Linked DNA regions of Homo sapiens: regions 1, 3, 4 and 5 are each linked to region 2. The links are contacts of gene promoters, found by promoter capture Hi-C in blood cells and fetal thymus (Javierre and others, 2016). All regions are on one chromosome and are shown on one strand. Each heading gives the region's core, a stretch centred on a gene start or on the middle of the fragment in contact. The rest is flanking DNA. Distances are from core to core; before and after follow the strand shown. Region 1 overlaps LOC124903820 (a long non-coding RNA gene). Region 2 holds the start of VWA1 (von Willebrand factor A domain containing 1). Region 3 overlaps C1orf159 (chromosome 1 open reading frame 159). Region 4 overlaps AGRN (agrin). Region 5 overlaps CDK11A (cyclin dependent kinase 11A).

What was found. The method cuts DNA at HindIII sites, captures the fragments that hold promoters and counts their contacts. A CHiCAGO score of 5 or more calls a contact.
Region 1: a contact is called between a fragment that was not itself captured here and the fragment with the promoter of VWA1 in region 2, in 1 of 17 cell types (naive CD4 T cells). The highest score is 5.3, in naive CD4 T cells.
Region 3: a contact is called between a fragment that was not itself captured here and the fragment with the promoter of VWA1 in region 2, in 1 of 17 cell types (total CD8 T cells). The highest score is 5.2, in total CD8 T cells.
Region 4: a fragment that was not itself captured here is called in contact with the fragment with the promoter of VWA1 in region 2 in 2 of 17 cell types (naive B cells and naive CD8 T cells); the score reaches 5.7 in naive B cells.
Region 5: a contact is called between a fragment that was not itself captured here and the fragment with the promoter of VWA1 in region 2, in 2 of 17 cell types (endothelial precursors and activated CD4 T cells). The highest score is 6.4, in endothelial precursors.

The regions. Positions count from the first base shown.
Region 1 is chr1:1,129,586-1,133,174 of GRCh38, reverse strand. All of the region lies in intron 1 of LOC124903820 (a long non-coding RNA gene), which reads right to left. Among named protein-coding and RNA genes, the nearest start is that of LINC01342, 5.6 kb to the left of the region's middle. The HindIII fragment of the contact is 4,801 bases long and covers 1-3,589 here.
Region 2 is chr1:1,433,702-1,437,675 of GRCh38, reverse strand. VWA1 (von Willebrand factor A domain containing 1) reads right to left here and starts at 1,986. Exons shown (of 3, transcript NM_022834.5): 1 at 1,855-1,986; 2 at 192-749. The coding sequence starts at 1,927. LOC107985729 reads right to left here. Exons shown (of 4, transcript XM_017003066.2): 2 at 3,605-3,713; 3 at 3,274-3,480; 4 at 2,127-3,140. The coding sequence ends at 2,526. It overlaps LINC01770 (long intergenic non-protein coding RNA 1770), which reads left to right and starts at 3,103. Exons shown (of 2, transcript NR_125996.1): 1 at 3,103-3,488. RefSeq lists silencers at 1,869-2,058, 1,817-2,186, 2,933-3,227 and enhancers at 3,013-3,072, 2,332-3,075. The HindIII fragment of the contact is 8,860 bases long and covers 1-3,974 here.
Region 3 is chr1:1,111,529-1,115,120 of GRCh38, reverse strand. All of the region lies in intron 1 of C1orf159 (chromosome 1 open reading frame 159), which reads left to right. Among named protein-coding and RNA genes, the nearest start is that of C1orf159, 2.8 kb to the left of the region's middle. RefSeq lists enhancers at 2,318-2,612, 2,831-3,332. The HindIII fragment of the contact is 804 bases long and covers 1,450-2,253 here.
Region 4 is chr1:1,038,324-1,042,411 of GRCh38, reverse strand. It overlaps AGRN (agrin), which reads right to left. Exons shown (of 36, transcript NM_198576.4): 4 at 1,532-1,747; 5 at 1,015-1,239; 6 at 710-934; 7 at 250-456. Among named protein-coding and RNA genes, the nearest start is that of AGRN, 20 kb to the right of the region's middle. RefSeq lists a silencer at 1,423-1,632 and an enhancer at 2,188-2,866. The HindIII fragment of the contact is 3,981 bases long and covers 1-3,391 here.
Region 5 is chr1:1,715,156-1,718,701 of GRCh38, reverse strand. It overlaps CDK11A (cyclin dependent kinase 11A), which reads left to right. Exons shown (of 20, transcript NM_024011.4): 5 at 2,224-2,356. Among named protein-coding and RNA genes, the nearest start is that of CDK11A, 7.4 kb to the left of the region's middle. The HindIII fragment of the contact is 1,554 bases long and covers 1,431-2,984 here.

The DNA.
Region 1 (3,589 bases), core at 661-3,160, 300 kb after region 2:
TGGTCCTTCTCCTCTGTGTTTCCTGCTTGCTCCTAAAACTCAGCTTTCAGGCGGAACACACAGCCCGGAACCACCCTGCTCTCAGGCGGAACCCGCGAGCACACGCAGCAGAGCTCTGCTCTTCCTGGGGTTTTAAGGATGAGACATTGCAAGGTCCCCCGGGCTACACAGTGACCCCTCTGGCAGGTTGTGCCCCCAGAGTTCATGGTTAGAATCCAAACTCTCAGTACCAACAACGCGAGCGTGTGTGGAGAAGGGGCTACGAGACAGGTGAGTATGTGGGAAGCAGCCGTGAGGATGAGCCCTGGCCGGGTCCCACTGGTGTCCTAGTTGCAGGAGGAGGTTAGGGCAGAGGGACACGGGACGGACCTGCGCAGAGGCCGCCTGAGAGAAGGCAGCAGCGGGAGAGGCCTCCGCAGAACCAGCCCGGCAACCCTGGGACACCGGACCTTCCCCTCCCCCTCCGAGGCTGTGAGAAAATACATTTCTGTTGCTTAAGTCCCCAGGCTCGGTATTTTGTTCCAGCAGCTGGAGCTAGGACAACCCCAGACGCACCCGGCCAGCCCTGAGGGAGGGCGTTCACCGGCTTCCCATACGCATTGTAGGAGGCCGCATGGGCACCCTCCTCAGCCCTGGGCACCCTTGTCGTACCTGACAACCCTGTGTAGATTCCCTGCAAGCATCCAGGGTCCAAGGCGGCCGCAGGCTCCTCAGACAAAGGGCTTCCTCCACACATGGGCTCAGGGCTACGGGCTCCCTGACATCGACCTCCCCGGCAGCCGCCCTGGTGTTTCTCCCATTTGCCAGCGGACACATCCCAGGTGACACCCCACCTCGGAAGAGGCCCTCCTGGCAGGTGCCTGGCCCCAATGCCCAACGCAGGGCTCGCGGCGGCGATGGCGGCGGGTCTCAGGCAGGAGTGGGATCTCTCTGCTGTCCGGTCCTGCCCCTTGCCCCTGAGAGGCCCCACAACCCCACCCCCAGCACACCCTGCATGGGCACCCCCGTCTCAGGCTCTGCCTCCCGTGCCCTGACCCTGGGCGCAGAGGGCCACGTGCCTGTGACTCCGCTTCCCTGGCGGTGAGGGGTCCGGCCTTGTGTCCCATGACTCGGGCTCTGCTCCCTGACGACCTCGCTGGGGCTGCCCCCACCCTTCCGTGGAGTCCTTTGCGACGGTTTCTAAGGGCTCAGAGTGCAGCATTGATTTCAACCATGTGTCTCTGTCATTAAAATAGTCCCCTGACTTTGCCTGTGGAATGTTTTGCTCTCTTCCCATTTTAAGTTAAATGTGGTCAGTGTGACGGAAGGAAATGCGGGTTTTTCTCCAGACCGTCTTGTGCAAGGAGAAGAAGCCTTGAAAAGAAGAGGCACAAACTATCAGGAACGTCCTCGAAGAGATGAGCGAAAGCACGTGGCCACAGAAAACCATGAGGATGCAACAGAAAGAACGACTCCGAGGGGCCGGGCGTGGCGGCTCACGCCTGTCATCCCAGCACTATGGGAGGCCGAGGCGGGCGGATCATGAGGTCAGGAGATCGAGACCATCCTGGCCGACACGGTGAAACCCCGTCTCTACTAAAAATACAAAAAATTAGCCAGGCATGGTGGTGGGCACCTGTAGTCCCAGCTACTCGGGAGGCTGAGGCAGGAGAATGGCGTGAACCAGGAGGCGGAGCTTGCAGTGAGCCGAGATCACATCACTGCACTCCAGCCTGGGCGACAGAGCGAGACTCCGTCTTAAAAAGAATGACTCCGAGGACAGAAACGAAAAGCGCTGGAAGGGACGGAGCCAGGACGTTCCCCGAACGTGACGTGAAAAGGCAAAGAAAATGGGATAGAAAAGGTGATTAGAGGACCTGCTCCAAATTGCAGCAATATTCACCAGAGAAAGAGAGAGCAACAACAAAAAGAAAAGATAAAGAACAAAATCATTTAAAAATTGTAATTCAAGAACATTTCCTGGAGCCGAAGCTCAGGCATTTCCAGACAGAAAGAGCCACTGAGGACCCCGTGAAAGGGATGAAAACGGAACCACACAAAGATCCACCTTCACAGGACAGCAGAGATGGAGACAAAAAGAAGGCCCCAAAAACTTTCAGGAAAAAACCCGCAGAAACAGGTTCCATACCAAGGCCCCGGGGTTGGGATGCCATTGCCGGACCCACAGCAGCCTCGGGAGCCGGGGACCCTGCGGCGAGGTTTTCTCAACTCGCAGGGAAGCGAAGGCCTTGGTGGGGGCCCGCCCTGTGCCCTTCACAGGCAGCTGCAGCTGTGGGCGTGGTGGGGGCCCACCCCCTGCACCTCACGGGGAGCTGCGAGGGGCTTGTTCCACCAAAACACTGAGAAGACAAGAAAGGGGAGGTGTGGGGCCCGGGAAAATCCCACCCAGGGGAGAAGCAATGGGACCTTTGTGACACGGACCACGAAGCCTGCAAGACGCCAGCCCTGCCCCAGGCCCGAGGGAGCCGACCAGCCCCGGGCAGGGCAGGAGGCTCCCGGAGGCCCCTCAGAAATACCTGGCGTGCCGGAATTTAAGTCATGGGGGAGAGTCTGAGGCTGAATTAGTAATGAGTTCAGAGAAAGCTAAGCAAGAAGAAAAGCAAAGGCGATTATTAACTTCAGGGAAACAGCTCAGAGTTCGGGTGAGAACAGGCGGCCACGGTGGACCTGGCACCAAGCTAGTCCCCGGCGCCCAGCAGAGTGACAGCAGAGACCAGGCGCGGCGCGTGACGGCGGGACGAGAGGTGGGAGGGCGGCAAACAGCCCCTTCCACAGGGCAGATTCAGGGCTGACCCTGAAGCTGGAGTGCTGAGAAGCTGCCGTTTGCCAGTGACGTTGGAAGTAAACACAGGAGCCTCCCAGCACACGGAGCTGGTGGCCTCGGCGCGGCCTGAAGATCATATGTGTCCAAGCCTTGCAGAAGTGTTTGACTCTCAAGCAACCTACAGGCATAACTGGTTTTTTTTTTTTTTTTTTTTTTTTTTTTTTGAGACAGAGTCTCACTCTGTTGCCCAGGCTGGAGGGCAATGGTGCCATCTGAGCTCACTGCAACCTCCGCCTTCCAGGTGCAAGCGATTGTCCTGCCTCAGCCTCCAGAGTAGCTGGAATTATAGGTGCCCGCCACCACATCCAGCTAATTTTTTTGTATTTTTAGTAGAGACAGGGTTTCATCATGCTGACCACGCTTGTCTCGAACTCCTGACCTCAAGTGATCCGCCCGCCTTGACCTCCCAAATGCGAACCACTGTGTCCGGCCACAAGCATAACTTTGATAGAAAAGGCAATAACAAATTAAGTTGGTGCGAGCTTTACCCTCTGAGTCCTCGGAATCATTTTTAAAACATAAAGGTTTCCAGAACTCACAGCTGTGAACTTAACTGTTCTCAAGGGGGTATCTTTGATTGATTTTCCTAACTCTTCTACGATAATCGGCCTTTTCCCCTCTTCTGCTTCCTCTCGTTCTGGCAGCCGATGCTCACATCCATAACAGTGTCTGTTTCCCTGGATTTTCCCATCCCAGGGCCACGCAGAGTGCAGCTCCCCTACACGGCCACGGCATTCTGTCCCTCTGTCGCGTGGCCATGCGTGG
Region 2 (3,974 bases), core at 737-3,236:
GTACACGGGTCGCCCAGTGAAGAGTGTGCATAGACAAGCTGCATCACTCAGCCCTGCACCCTAGGGGTACCACAGCCCCGGAGGCCCTGGCCGCTGCTCTGGGGACATGAGATCTTCCCAAAGTCTCAACCCAGCCTCTCCTTCTGCGGCTCCCAGCTAGGGCTCCCTGGGCCCTGCCTCCTCCCGCATACCGAGAATGGAGCCCCTCAGCTCTTGGACAATGATGTGCAGGTCATCCACGTCCACAAAGTGCAGGTGCTTCTCGGCAGGGGCTGAGGCAGCGGCTGACAGCTCCAGGAAGTTGCCTCGGCCGGTGCTGACAATGAACACGGTGACGCCCAGGTCCTTGAGCTCCTGCATGGGGGGGCCCACAGGGTCGCTGGAGCCGCCATCTGTCACCCACACCAGCACTTTGGGCACCCCTGGCCGGGCACCTGATGCTTCAGCAAACAGCTGTTCCTTGGCATAGACCAGCGCCAGGCCAGTGTGGGTGTCACCCATGCGCTGGGCAGAAGCACGCACCGCATCCTGGGCAGCCTCACCCGAGCTGTGCTGGCCGAAGGGGAACTCGGTGTATGGCCGACTGCCCACGTGCACCAGACTGGCACGCAGGGCCCCGGTGCCCAGGGGCAGTGGAGCCACCAGCTGCCCCACAAACTCCCGAACCCGGGAGAACTCGTAGTGAGAGACGCTGGCTGAGCTGTCCAGCAGGAACATCAGGTCCCCTCGGGGGGCTGATGCTGGTGGACCTGGGGGAAAGGAGGAATGCTCAGCCTCAGGTGTGGGCCCCCCAGACAGCCCCACAGCAAGGCAGGGTCCCCCAGGGCCCCAGCTTTCCTTAAGTGGATGCTTGCCTTCTCCCAAAGGTCCTAGGTTGGGGGAAAGAGGAACTCTAAGCAAGAGGCCTGTACTTTTGGGGGTTTCACTGCACACTGGCCATGGGATCTAGGGCTCTCTCTGGGCTTGTGTTATCCCATCTGTGAGAGGGCGACTCTCCGCTCCAAGCCCCCACACCTTCCCATTCCTCACAGACCCTGCAAGCAGGTGGAGCCAAGAGTCCTGGCCTAGGCCCCCAGGACAGGCCTGAGCCGTGGGGCTGTTCCCTCCAGGCATGGCTTTCAGAGGAGCAGCCTGAGGCTGGAGTTCAGCCACGCAGCTCAGCCTGCAGGTGAGGCACCCTGGGCATGCACACAGCAGCAGGGGAAGGTGTCGGAGGCACAGCAATGACCACGCCGGATGGCCTGGCTGGAGCCCAGACCCCGCTTACTAGATGGTGGCCCCTCCCCTGGCCTCCATCCTCCAGCCCACCTGGACTCACACAACAAGATATAACCCCCAGCAGCCTGAAAGCCGGAACAGCCCCTCGCAGGCTTCCCCCTTCCTCCGGGCACCTCCGGGGTGGAGGCTGATGCCCCCTACACCGCCCCTCCCCACCAAGCCAGGGCACCAGCGTGCCTCAATTCTAGTCCCGGCCTTGCGGTTTTCCCCAGTGCGGTGGGGCGACTCCAACTTCCCTACCATCCCTCCACTAAGGGCCCTCGCAAGGGTAGGGAAACTGAGGCAGGGGTGCCCCCTTGACAGACATCTCCCTCTTCCTGTCCAGGCCCGCGATCCCGCAGAGATGCGGGCCGGGACGGCCCCTATGCCCCGGCGCTCACGGACGGTGTCGCCTGGAGCACCTGGGCCGCCAGCCTCAGGTGAGCAGGACGCTCCGCCCGCGCCCCCGCCCGGCTCCCGCAGCCTCCCAGCCCGCCCGCCCGTCCGGAGCAGGGGACAGCGACGGCCTTGCGCGGGCAGCGGCGCAGAGCGGTCACCAGAAGCCCCAGCCCCGGCCCGGCCGCCCGCCGCACTCACCGCGCTCCGCGCCGCTCCGCGCCAGCGCCAGCCGCAAGCTCAGGGCCAGGCCGAGCGCCGTCCAGGGGAGCATCGCGCGCGAGGGACGGGGCGCGCTCGGCAACTCGCTCGCTCGCTCGCTCGCTCGGGGCTGCAGGGCGCGTCACCGCGCGGACCAGGCCGGCCCCGCCCCCGGGAGGCCCCTCCCCGAGCGGCCACACCCACGCCGAGGCCACGCCCACGCCCTCCGGCGCGAGCGGAGGGCCACGCGCACAGACCCCGGAGAGGCGCGCACGAGCGGACCCCGACACGCAGGGACACGCAGCACCAGCCGAGATACGACCGAGGCACGCACGCGCAGGCACGCACACACACACACTCCAGTCTCCCTCTCCCGGCCGAGGCTGTGCGGCCCACGCTCTCCACCCCTCTCCGACCCCCAGCCGCGGGAGCCGAGCAGGGAGGTACCAGGCTAGGCCCTCCCCATGCCCACCACTGCCGTGACTCTGGGTGCTGGGGTCCCAGCAGCCAGGCCCAAGAGAACCCCAGGGGCTGGCGGTGGCACCAAAAAAACACGTCCAGACCGTGGTTTCGCCTTGGCCTCCGCGCTGGAGGCGGATAGGTGTCTGGAGTAACAGGACATGTATCCCAGGGACTGACCAGCAGGGATGGGAAGGACCATGGGGTGGAACTTACAAGGACACAGTGGCTTGAAAGGGGACAGAAGACAGGAATTCGAGAGAGACTCGAAGCACCCACGCCACCTGGGCTTCTTGGAGGAAGAGGCATGGGAGTGGGAGATGGTTGGTTGAGGCCCTGTCCAGTGGGACCACACTGGGCCTGTTACCCATATACCCTACCCAGTGAGGGGCCCAGACTCCAGGACCCAGGACACACCCCCAGCAGGACTGGAGGGTCCCACTGGTGAGACAGGAGCTCTTGAGTCTTGGGGTCTTGGTGAGGCCCAGACGAGAGGTGGCTGGTTGCAGGGGGCGTCCTGAGGGACAGTGGCTCCCAGGGCAGATTTCCCCTGCTTGGGTGGGGCTGGGCCAGCAGTGTCCCCTGGACAGGAGAACCCTACCCCGGCCCTCCCTCGGAGTAGCCATGGCCCTCTTCCAGGGCCTCCTCAGCTCAGAGCTGGGAGGTGGGGGACGTGGGGGGGTGTCTGCCAGGATGTCTCCTCCTTCCCCACCCTCTCCTGGAGGATGCGCCGCGGGAGAACGGATGGGGCTCCACAGGCTTCCTTCCTCCCTTTCAGGCAGGTGAGACACCGCGGGGCCGTGCGGACGGCCAGCACTCGACTTTGCCTAAAAAAGGAAGCAGCAGGCTGAGGCTGAGGAGCTGGCGGCAGGAACAAGGGAGAGCTGTGTCCCCGCCGGCGCCCCCCACCCCCCCTGCCGGGGATCTTGGCAGTGGAGGTGCTGGCTGCGCTCCACAGACCTCAGACCTCGGCTGGGACCAGAAATGCCTGGTGCTTCCGCCTGGGCCCGGTGGGGGGACTTTGGGTCCCCAGAGTGCAAGCTGTACCACTTCGAGGGGCCTCGCCAGGCCCCCCAGCCCCCAGTACACAGGGGCTGCCGTGGAGATGACGCTGAAGGCCGCAGCCGCTGGAGGACCTGGGGTCTGACCGGAAGCTGGCTGCAGACCCTGCGGAGGCACGTCCAGGTAGTCAGGCAGGGAGCTGGGCCGAGGGTCCCCCACCCTGGGGAGGCTCACAGCCAGTGGCCCGCTTGTCCCCCACCCTCGCCCAGCAGGCGGGCCACAGTCACACCTCAGCCAGCCTTGCAGGGCTGACGGGGAAGTTTCCCTCACTTCTGGAAAAAGTGAGCGGGTCTTCTTGGCTGTGACTCAGGCCCTCAAGGAAGCGGCCGCCCTCCTCCCTTCAGCTCGCCATCAGCGGGAGAAGGCACAGGAGGCCTGGCCTCCACCCAGCCTGGGCCGAGCTCAGCCACCTGCCTTGCTCCCGGCTCTGCCTGGAGTCCCTCCAGCTAGGAGACCCTCCCCATCAGCTCTCCCCGTGCCCCTCAGTCTTCAGGACTCATTCTTGTGTCCTGCCCTCCCCCCGCTGTCTCCACCCCGGAGGAGGGACGTGGACAGAGGGTCCCAGAGAGCATGGGGTCAGCCAGAGGTGCAGTGTCAGG
Region 3 (3,592 bases), core at 602-3,101, 320 kb after region 2:
GGATGTCAAACTTGGCCTCCTTTTTTTGGTTTTCATTTTTCTTAGTATTACCAGGGTGTGCAGAGAAGGCAGAGCTGCGTCTTCCTCTTTTATTTTTCCGTAAGTTACTGGGGTACAGGTGGTGTTTGGTTACTTGGTTACATGGGTAAGCTCTTTAGTGGTGATTTGTGAGATTTTGGTGCTCCCATCACCCGAGCAGTACGCACTGCACCCTATTTGTAGCTTTTTATCCTTGTCCCCCTCCCACCCTTCCCTCCGAGTCCCCAAAGTCCAGTGTATCGTTCTTAGGCGTCTTCCTGTTTCCTGATGGCTTAACCTGGGAAACCCTCGCAGAGGGAGCCGGTTTTGAGCCCCAGGGTAGGGGCGGCCGCCTGGGATGTTCAGTGATGCGCCTGATTACTCAGGTTTATGTTCCCCGTTTGCATTCAGCCAGGATCCGTCATGGCCACGTTGTTTTTAACATACATGTTTATGAATTATACAGAAACGTTGTTTTCCTGACACACATCCCGCCCCCAGTACTCCTCCTAAAAGCCAGTCAGGCAGGTGTTTCCACACGCAGTCACCTCAGCCCTGGGGTGCACAGGCAGCATCCCGGGAACCCCTGAGATACCTCCCAGCTGCTCCCTGCCTTGCGGCTGCTCTCCACCTGAGCTTTGACTTACTGGGTAGCTCATTTAAAGAACAGCTAGCGCTGTGGGTGCTGGGGTGGGAGATCGCTTGAGACCAGTCTGGGCAACATAGGGAGACCTCGTCTCTATAAAAAATAAAAAATATTATCCAGGCATGGGGGCAAGCACCTGTGGCCCGTTACAGTAGGTAGCTAGTCAGACATGAGCAGGGCAGAAGAGGGGCCCCCCTCTACCAGGGACATTTGGCTGGTAAGAGAAGGCGGCCCTGGCTGTGCGCGGTGGCTCACACCTGTAATCCCAGCACTTTGCAAGGCCGTGGGGGGAGGGGGGCGGATCAGAAGGCCAGGAGTTTGAGATCAGCCTGGCGAATATGGTGAAACCCCGTCTCTGATAAAAATACAAAAATTAGCCGGGCATGGTGGCGGGCGCCTGTGGTCCCAGCTACTCAGGAGGCTGAGGCAGGAGAATCGCTTGAACTCGGGAGGCGGAGGTTGCAGTGAGCCGAGATTGCGCCACTGCACTGCAGCCTGGGTGACAGAGCGAGACTCCATCTCAAAAAAAAAAAAAAAAAAAAAGGCCTCGAGGGAGCGTGCGCACAACTCCAGTAAACTCTGTGCATGCTCCCTCCCAAGTGCCCGCAGCCGCTGTGCGGGTGGACGGCCCACCCCGAGGGAAGAATCGGGAGACGTAACACCCCGGAAGCCTCCAGCGTGGAAGACCCTAAGTCAAAGGTCAAACTGCGCACTTGATCTCTCAGGTCTCCTGCCTGGCCTTCTTCCAAGGGCGCTTTACTTCCTTTCATTCCTGCTCTAAAGCTTCTTCATAAACTGTTGCTCCTGCTCTAAGGTCTCTTCTGCCTCCTACCCGTCCATCAAACTCTTCTGAGGAGGGAAAAATTGAGGTTCACTGCTGCTAACATGCTTTGGTGTCAGAAGTGGGACATATTCTGCCACTAACAGTCCCAGCTACTCGAGGGACTGAGGCAGGAGGATCGCTTCAGCCCCGGAGGTGGAGACTGCAGTGAGCCGAGATCGCAACGATGCACTCCAGCCTGTTTCACAAAGAAAAGAAAGAGCCACCTCTTCTCACCACTCTGGCTGAGGGTTGCGTGTGCCGAGGTGGAGTGTGGAGCTCAGGTGAGCCTTCAGAGCTCTATTACTGGCAGAATGTATCTGAGTTTCAGCACCAAAGTATGTCAGCAGCGGCCTCGATTCTCGCTGCCTCAGAAGAAAGAATTTGATGGAAGGACATGAGGCTGAAGGAGAGACTGAGGCAAGTTTTTTTTTTTTTTTTGAGATGGAGTCTGTCTCTGTCGCCCAGGCTGGAGTGCAGTGGCACAATCTCGGCTCACTGCAAGCTCTGCCTCCCGGGTTCATGTCATTCTCCTGCCTCAGCCTCCCGAGTAGCTGGGACTACAGGTGCCTGCCACCACAACCGGCTAATTTTTTGTATTTTAGTAGAGAAGGGGTTTCTGCATTTTGGTCAGGCTGGTCTCGAACTCCCAACCTCAGATGATCCACCCACCTCAGCCTCCCAAAGTGCTGGGATCACAGGCGTGAGCCACCGCACCCCACCGACTAAGGCAAGTTTTAGAGCAGGAGTGAAAGTTGTTGAAGAAGCTTTAGAGCAGGAAGGAAAGGAAGTACCCTTGGAGGAGGGCCAGACGGGCGATGTGAGAGATCAGGTGTGCGGTTTCACCTTTTGACTTGGGGTTTTATAGCCTGGCAGGCTTCTGGGGTCTTGCACCCCTTCTCCCCTGATCCTTCTTCAGGGTGGGCTGTCCACCCATGCAGCATCTTGCTAGTACTTGGGCGGGAGCATGCGCCATGTGTTCCCTGGAGGGAGGGAGCATGCCCGGTGTGTTCACTGGAGGGAGGGAGCATGCCCCGTGTATTCACTGGGGGGAGGGAGCATGCGCTGTGTGTTCACTGGAGGGAGGGAGCGTGCGCGTTGTGTTCACTGGAGGGAGGGAGCATGTGCCGTGTGTTCACTGGAGGGAGGTAGCATGTGCCGTGTGTTCACTGGAAGGAGGGAGCATGCGCTGTGTGTTCACTGGAGGGAGGGAGCGTGTGCGTTGTGTTCACTGGAGGGAGGGACCGTGCGCCGTGTGTTCACTGGAGTAGTGCCCATGCTCACCTGAGGCGTTCTTCCGTTACCTGTCAAACGTCCCTAGAAGGTCATAGAACGGTTACACGCCGCCATTTTGCCTCTCAGTGCACACGCTTGAGCCAACTCGCCCAGTTCCTGAGATCGTATCGGGAAGCTGCCCATCACCGGATTTCATGTGTTTTCTAGCTATTGGGAGCCTGTCTTTCCCTGGCGCTGGGTGCAACCAGTTCTTTTAGACAGTTAACAGCCACCTGACCATCACCTGATGGTGGCCTGACATTCCCGGTGGGGGGATGGGCCCGATCCTGCCCTGCTCACGTCTGCTGAGCCACCTACGGCAACCGCCCGACTCCGGTGTGCTGAGCCCACGGGTAGGTGGGCAGCGACTACCATGCATGTCAACAAAGGGGGATGTCTCCTTTACACCCCATCAAGGGGTTTGCGGTATTTGTTTTCTATCAAAGCACGAGAGGGATCTTTAGGTAGAGAGGCCCCAGACAGTTCTTATTGGGCCCTTAAAGCTACGTTTCACGTTGGCTTCCTTTGCTTGCTACGAAGATGACCAGCATTAGCTACACGGATGCAGTGGAAGCTCCAGCCAGCCCTCGGGGCTGTGTTTACCGAGGTTCAGCAGCGTGAGAAACCCGCCAGTGGACCCTCCCGCCTCCCCTTTTCAGTTACTGCTGCCTGGGCGGCTGGAGTTACGGTGAGCGTGGGTGTGGTCTACCCACTGCCCCAGCCGGTGGTTGCTTTTACAGGGTTGTTTTGCAAGATGTTACTTATTTAAAATCACAGTGACCTGAGGCATCATTTTTTTCTTGAAACCAGTTCTTTGTTGTTGTTGTTGAGAC
Region 4 (4,088 bases), core at 152-2,651, 390 kb after region 2:
CCAGGGAGGGCGTGGCTGAGGTCAGGGACCAGGGAGCCTGGACAAGGCCCCGCCTCTGCCTCACCAGCCCCCAGGTATCCAGGTACCCTCCGCACACAGGCTCCACCCTCCCCAGAGCCTTCCCAGAGGGACCGGCCCACTCCCAGGACCCCAAGAGGAACATGATGGATGAAGATGGCATGTGATGTCCAGGCAGGGACTGACGCAGGAGCAGCCCACCCCGCCTGGCCTCCACCCCGGGGCGCTCACCACACGGGCCCTGGTGCTTGCTGGGGATGGCACGCTGCTGCCGGCACTCAGCCTGCTGCCGCCAGCAATCACTGTCATACGTGCGCCCGTCCTGGGCACACACGGGCCTGTAGGCCCCGTCACAGGTGACGCGGTCGCAGGAGCAGCGGGGACGGCCACGGCGGGACAGGCACACGGCATTGAACCGGCAGGGCTCCGGGCACTGGTCTAGGACGCAGGGGTGAGGGAGTCACGGAGAGGCTGGAGCACCCTCCATCCCTGCCCTGGGATGTGCAGGGAGCAGGGGAGCAGGCGGCCCTCCCAGAGGGGAGCCGCCCACCTCGACCCTGGCACTGGCCGCAGCCCTCCCCCGGGGGAGCCGCCCACCTCGACCCTGGCACTGGCCGGAGCCCTCCCCCGGGGGAGCCGCCCACCTCGACCCTGGCACTGGCCGGAGCCCTCCCCCGGGGGAGCCGCTCACCTCGACCCTGGCACTGGCCGGAGCGCACTTTCTGCAGGAGGAGACCCCGGGCGGCCCCCGATCGGCCCATGACACAGTCGTTTTCGTAGGTGACTCCGTCGTCCCCACACACTGGCGCCTGCCGGGCAGGGCAGCTCTCGGGCCGTAGGAGCATCTCAGGGCGCCGCGTGCGCGGGTTCACACGGCAGCTGCGGCTCGGGTCAGGGAGGGCGCCCTGACAGGGGTCTGGGGGTCGAGGGCAGGAGTCAGGACGCTGTCGCCGCGCGCCCACAGAGCTCGAGCCGTGCGCCCGCCGCCGCGCTCACCACAAGGGCCGTCGAACTTCTTGAAGACATTCTCCTGGCGGGCGCAGGCGCGGCGCAGGAGCTGGCACTCGCCGGGGTAGTCGGCGCCGTCGCTGCCGCAGACGGTCCCCTCGGGGGCGCCACGGCAGGTCGCGGGGCACAGGCACGAGGCCGTCAGCCCGTCGGCCGAGCGCGCACAGGTGCTGCCGAAGCTGCAGGTCACGTTGGAGCAGGGGTCCCGCGAGCCTGCGGGCGGGGCTTTGCCGGTCAGACGGGCCGCCCCCGCCCCCGCTCCCGCCCCGCTCCCGCCCCGCTCCGCCCCCCAGGCCCCTCCCAGCCCCGCTCCTCCCCGCCGGGCCCCGCAGGCCCCGCCCCCGCTCCCGCCCCGCTCCGCCCCCCAGGCCCCTCCCAGCCCCGCTCCTCCCCGCCGGGCCCCGCCCCTGCCCCCGCCCCACTGGCCCCGAAGCCCCTCCCAGCCTCGCTCCATCTCATAGGCCCCGCCCCTCCCCGCCCCAGGCACCGGCCCCGCCCCGCTCACCGCACGGCCCGCGGCTGAGCAGGCGGATGCGGCGCTGCTGGCTGCACTGCGCCCGCTGCAGCTCGCATTCGTTGCTGTAGGTGGAGGCGTCCGACCCACACACAGGCGCCACCACGCTGGGGCACGGGCTCTTCTTGCAGACGCAGGACGCCCGGCCCGGCCCCTCCGCGTTGGGCTCGCACACGGCGCCGAAGCCGCACAGCATTCCCCGGCACGCTGGGGCGGGTAGGGGAGAAAGCTCAGGGTGCCGAGACGCCCGTACCCACGTCCACAAGCCTGAGAGACCTTGCCGTGCTCGCAGCCCGCGCATTCACCCGCCCCCGCGCCGCATCGGGGGTCCACCACGGACACGGACACGCGTGCGTGCGCTCACAGGACCGGCCCTGCCCCTCGCAGACCCCGCCCGCCGAGGATTCCCGCCAGCCCCGGGCCTCTCCAGGGATGACCTTTCTCCCCCACCCCGCACCTGCAGGCGCGGAGAGGGGCGTCTGCCGCAGGCGGCACCCGACTCTGTTTCTGCGACGGGCGAGCACCCACTTCCCACCCACCTCGTGGGCCTCCAGCGAAAAGCAGAGACGCCTCGAAACCAACTCGGGCACAAGCAGTCCAGGCCCCAGTTCTGCTCAGGAGCTCCTTCCACATCGGCACCGGAGCCCCTCACCGATTCACCCCATGGAGCCGGGGGAGCCCCTTCCCGCGCTGCTGCAGCGTCCAGCACAGCTGAGCCCTGCCGCCTCCCGCCCGGGTCGCACCCAGGTCCCGCGTCTGGCCCTCAGGGGCCTGAGAGCCCCACCGGGACGGGGTGTGAGGCCAGGTCACAGCTCTGGCCCACCTCTGGCGCCTCCCTGACCGCTCCCTGCGCCTAAGATGGGTGGGGAATCTTCTTGCCTCCCTCTCCCCAACTCTTCCCCAGCTTCCCTGGAGAAGTGCAAATTCCTGGCCTCCGCCTCTACTATCTCCTATTCTCCCTGGCCAGCCCCCCACCCGCGGCAGGCCTGTGCCCTTCTGCAGCCTCCCATCGCTCCCTGGGATCCCTGGGGCACCCACACGCCCCCTCCTCCCTGGGCATCCCCCGGCCCCCCACCTCACTCTTGCCTCCTCCATCGCCCTCACTCTCTGTCAAAGCGAACTTCCTTCTTGGAGAGGTGCAGGAACTGTTGCTCATTTTAGTTCTTACAGCTGCAGACCACAGCGCCTGACACACGTCCCATCACCAGACCTCAACGTGGCCAACAAAGCTGCCTCAGGCACGTTAAAACCCAGAGCCCCTGCGGCAGCCCATCCTGAGCACCCCCACCCCCAGCATGGCCCACCCAGGATCAGGGAAGGGTCCGTTAGCGGCTGCAGCTGTCTGGATTTAATAAATGTTTAATTGGGTCCAATTATCATTAATAAGTCATGTCAGAGGGGTGGCTACCACCCATCACTTCCCAGCAGGCTCGTGAAATGGGGCAGGAGGAACCCCCCCCATCTCCAAGGAGGGTGGGTGCACTGGGAGCTGGAGCCAGCTGTTGCTATAGCAACAGCCCACCCCAGGCTCTGGCGCTGTCTGTCTGGGTGTCCCTGCCCCCACCCCAGAAGGCTGAGTGAGGGCCATCCGCCTGCCATCCCTGCAACCTACCCATGCTCCCCCCACCAGATCCCTGTCTTCCTCCCCAAACCTTGGCTGTGCCCCCACCCCTCTTCTGCTACTCTCCCACCTCAGGTCTTACAGCCAGGCTGCTCAGCTCTGCATTACCCACTGTGAGAATGTGGGCAGGTTATCACCTGCCTGGGCCTCAGTATCCCCTTCGGTGAATAGGAGCAATAGGACCTACCTCCCAGGATTGTGGGGTTAAATGGGCCAGTATCTGCAAAGCTTAGAGGGTGCCCAGCACACAGCGCTATGTGGCCCGTCTGCTGCCACTGTAAGTATAGTCATGAGGGCTGTCATCACCACTGGCCTTCCCCCGTCCTGGCTCAAATCAAACTCAAACCACATGCACCCCTGGCCCTTTCACTTCCCTTCTGGTTCCCCTTCTCTCTCCCCTCAGCATCTCCCTCTCCCTTTGGCCCTGCCTTGTCCAAGGCCCTGGGACTCCCAGTCCAAATCCAACGGGCACCTGCTGATGCCCAGCCAGCTGTTCTCCTGGGCTTCGGCTGGACCTGTGGACCAATGGTTCCCCCCAGGTCCCAACCCCATGGCCAAGGACCCAGTCACCTCCCTGCACCAGGGCTCCTGAGCCTTTCTCCCCTTTTGGTCACCTTGGCTCAGCCAGACCTCTCCCAAGGCCCTGACACCATGGCCAAGGGCACTGTTCCTGGATGGCGGGCATGCTCCTCATCCACCAGGACCCGCAGCTCCCTCCATAGTCCAGCCCGAGGTCCTGCTACGTCCCAAGACAGAGCCTTGGGGAAGAAGGTGATGATGGCAGCTCACCAGGGTGAGCGGGGCTGGACTGCTTGCAGGGGCATGGAGAGCAAGCTCTGGGATGGGAGCCTAGAGGTACCTTAGGGACAGGCTCTGAGTGACCAGCTGCTGGACCAATGTGGCAGGGCAGTGGAGAGACCTTGGGTA
Region 5 (3,546 bases), core at 958-3,457, 280 kb before region 2:
TCGCACCACTGCACACTCTAGCCTGGGCGACAGAGCAAGACTCCGTCTCAAAAAAAAAAAAAAGAATACTCTAGCTGAAAGCATACGTGCGTCACAGACCGTTCAGAATGGCTATAGAGAGAATACTCTAGCTGAAAGCGTGCGTGTGTCACAGACCGAAAACCAGAGAGAGCAAACTCTAGCTGAAAGCGTGCGTGTATCACAGACCGAAAACCAGAGAGAGCAAACTCTAGCTGAAAGCGTGCGTGTGTCACAGACCATTCAGAAGGGCTATGGAGAGCAAACTCTAGCTAAAAGCCTGCGTGTGTCACAGACCGAAAACCAGAGAGAGCAAACTCCAGCTGAAAGCATGCGTGTGTCACAGACCGTTCAGAGGGGCTATAGAGAGAATACTCTAGCTGAAAGCATGCGTGTGTCACAGACCGAAAACCAGAGAGAGCAAACTCCACCTGAAAGCATGCGTGTGTCACAGACCATTCAGAAGGGCTATAGAGAGAATACCCTAGCTGAAAGCATGCGTGTGTCACAGACCGAAAACCAGAGAGAGCAAACTCTAGCTGAAAGCATGCGTGTGTCACAGACCGAAAACCAGAAAGAGCAAACTCTAGCTGAAAGCGTGCGTGTGTCACAGACCATTCAGAAGGGCTATAGAGAGCAAACTAGCTAAAAGCATGCGTGTGTCACAGACCGAAAACCAGACAGAGCAAACTCCAGCTGAAAGCATGCGTGTGTCACAGACCATTCAGAAGGGCTATAGAGAGAATACTCTAGCTGAAAGCATGCATGTGTCACAGACTGAAAACCAGAGAGAGCAAACTCTAGCTGAAAGCATGCGTGTGTCACAGACCGTTCAGAGGGGCTATAGAGAGGATACTCTAGCTGAAAGCGTGCGTGTGTCACAGACCGAAAACCAGAGAGAGCAAACTCTAGCTGAAAGCATGCGTGTGTCACAGACCGTTCAGAGGGGCTATAGAGAGGATACTCCAGCTGAAAGTGTGCGTGTGTCACAGACCGAAAACCAGAGAGAGCAAACTCTAGCTGAAAGCATGCGTGTGTCACAGACCGAAAACCAGAGAGAGCAAACTCTAGCTGAAAGCGTGCGTGTGTCACAGACCATTCAGAATGGCTAGTCCATTTTTCCTCTGGGGTTTTCTCTCCCCCATTATATTGTTTGGGAGCAGTTTGTTTACATTTAAAATGACCTGAATTCAACAAGTATAGGAGAAAAACACACCCCAAAATGGGTATTTGCTCAAGTCCAAAGAATGGGTTAGGCTTGAGCAGTTTGATCTCGTACCAACATCAGGAGATTCTTACGGGTGTTAGGAAAATTGGACCTGGAGCCCGATTGAAATCTCATTATTATAAATACGCTTGATTAATTAATGTGGCTTCATTGCACAGTGGAGAAGCCCACTGATAGCAAAGCTTTGTTCTGTAGTCTTTGTGAAGAGTGGTTTTTGTATTATAAAACTGATAATTATAGTTTATTCAGTATAGAAAATTTTTAAAAGATGAATATTACAATTCTCTTCTGTGATAGCAGAATTGTTTTTCTTTTTTCTTCTTTCTTCATAATTAGACGCTTACTGCAGATAGTTTTCTATTTTCAAAGTTTTTTATTTAACATAAAATCATGATTATTCGACTGGGTGCAGTGGCCCAGGCCTGTAATCCCAGCACTTTGGGAGGACAAGGATGGAGGATCACTTGAGCCCAGGAGTTCAAGACCAGCTTGGCCAATATAGTGAGACCCTGTCTCTTCAAAAAAAAAAAAAAAAAGATTAGGATTACTTAACATCATTATTTAAATATTTAATGTTCTTGATTTAATTTCATTTTCATGTGATTTTTTTTTTTTTTTTTTTTTTTTTTTTTTTTTTTTTTGAGATGGAGTCTCACTTTTTCGCCCAGGCTGGAGTGCAGTGGCACGATCTCGGCTCACCGCAACCTCCACCTCCCAGGTTCAAGTGATTCTACAGCCTCAGCCTCCCTTAGTACCTGGGATTACAGGTGCCTGCCACCACGCCCAGCTAATTTTTGTATTTTTAGTAGAGACGGGGTTTCACCATGTTGGCCAGGCTGGTTTTGAACTCCTGACCTCAGGTGATCCACCCGCCTCGGCCTCCCAAAGTGCTGGGATTACAGGCGTAAGCCACCGTGCCCGGCCTCGTGAAATTTTTGAAGTGAGGTTTCTTTGCATGACACTTTATTTCTCATTAGGGAAGCATGCTAGAGTGAAAGAAAGAGAGCACGAACGTCGGAAACGACATCGAGAAGAACAGGATAAAGCTCGCCGGGAATGGGAAAGACAGAAGAGAAGGGAAATGGCAAGGGAGCATTCCAGGAGAGAAAGGTGAGTGGGCTGGGTCAGTTGAGGACTTTATGAAAGGGCCGTGGTAGTGTGTCCTGTCACAGCAATGAAGAAGAATTTGGCAATAGAAGTCACATTTGTTGCAGAAGTGGTAGACATGGAAACAGCACAGTGAACGCTGGACGAGGCTGACCAAGAGAACTGTCCTGAGGGAGTGAGTTTTCACTGCATCTGGAAGTAAGAACGGGTGTGATTTGATTGAGGGAAGACAATGAAGGGATCAGAAATCTGCACGTCCCGCCGGGCGCAGTGGCTCACGCTAGAATTCCAGCACTTACGAGGCTGAGGTGGTTGGATCCCTTGAGCCTGGGAGGTCAAGGCTGCAGTAAGCTATGACCATGCTACTGCACTCCAGCCTGGTTGACAGAGTGAGACTGTCTCAAAAAAAGGAGAAGGGAGATCCCAAAAACCTTGAAACAGTCTGGAAATCGGGACACTGGACTCCTAGGACTCCTGGCCATTAGTCTGTATATTCGTTCCCCTTTATGAGCCAGATTCCCAAGAAAGAACATCGGTGTAGCCCCAGATCTGTTCTGTGAACCAGGAAAAAGGCTGTAGGCCAGGTGCGAGCAGGCCCATCTCCGCCTTCAGAGTGAGTCCACAGAAAGCTTGCAAGCTGCTCCAGGAAGAGAGGAGTCTGAAGCGGAAGGGCGTGTGCAGCGATGTTTGCCAGCAGCCAGGGCTGGGTACACAGCATGTAAAGATGATGAGAGGGCGCTGGTTCTTGTTGATGCCGAAGGGTGTGGGAGACACTGAGGCCCAGGGGTCAAGGTCCGAGACCGCTGCTGGGTGAGCAAGGTTTCAGTTGGCCTAGTTCCTGTTAGTGTGTGAAACATTCATGTATGCCACGCCCTGTGCCAGACATTGAGTGTGTCTTGTCCCACGAGAGTAGAGCTTGGGATAGAAGTGGAGGTTGGTAGATGAAATTTGGGCTGTCATATTGATTTCCCAGAAGGTAAAGACAGGAGAGTGAATGAACAAAAATTGTTGGGGGCAGACTTCTGGGTAGGGCCGATTCAGATCAGCCAATCCAGAACTGGGTGTGGTAGCATATGCTACGTGGGAGGCTAAGGCCAGAGGACCGCATGACGCCAGCCTGGGCAACGTAGAGAGACCTTGTCTCTGACAAAAAGGAAACTGATAAGGATAATCTGAGAAGCACTGATGCTTGG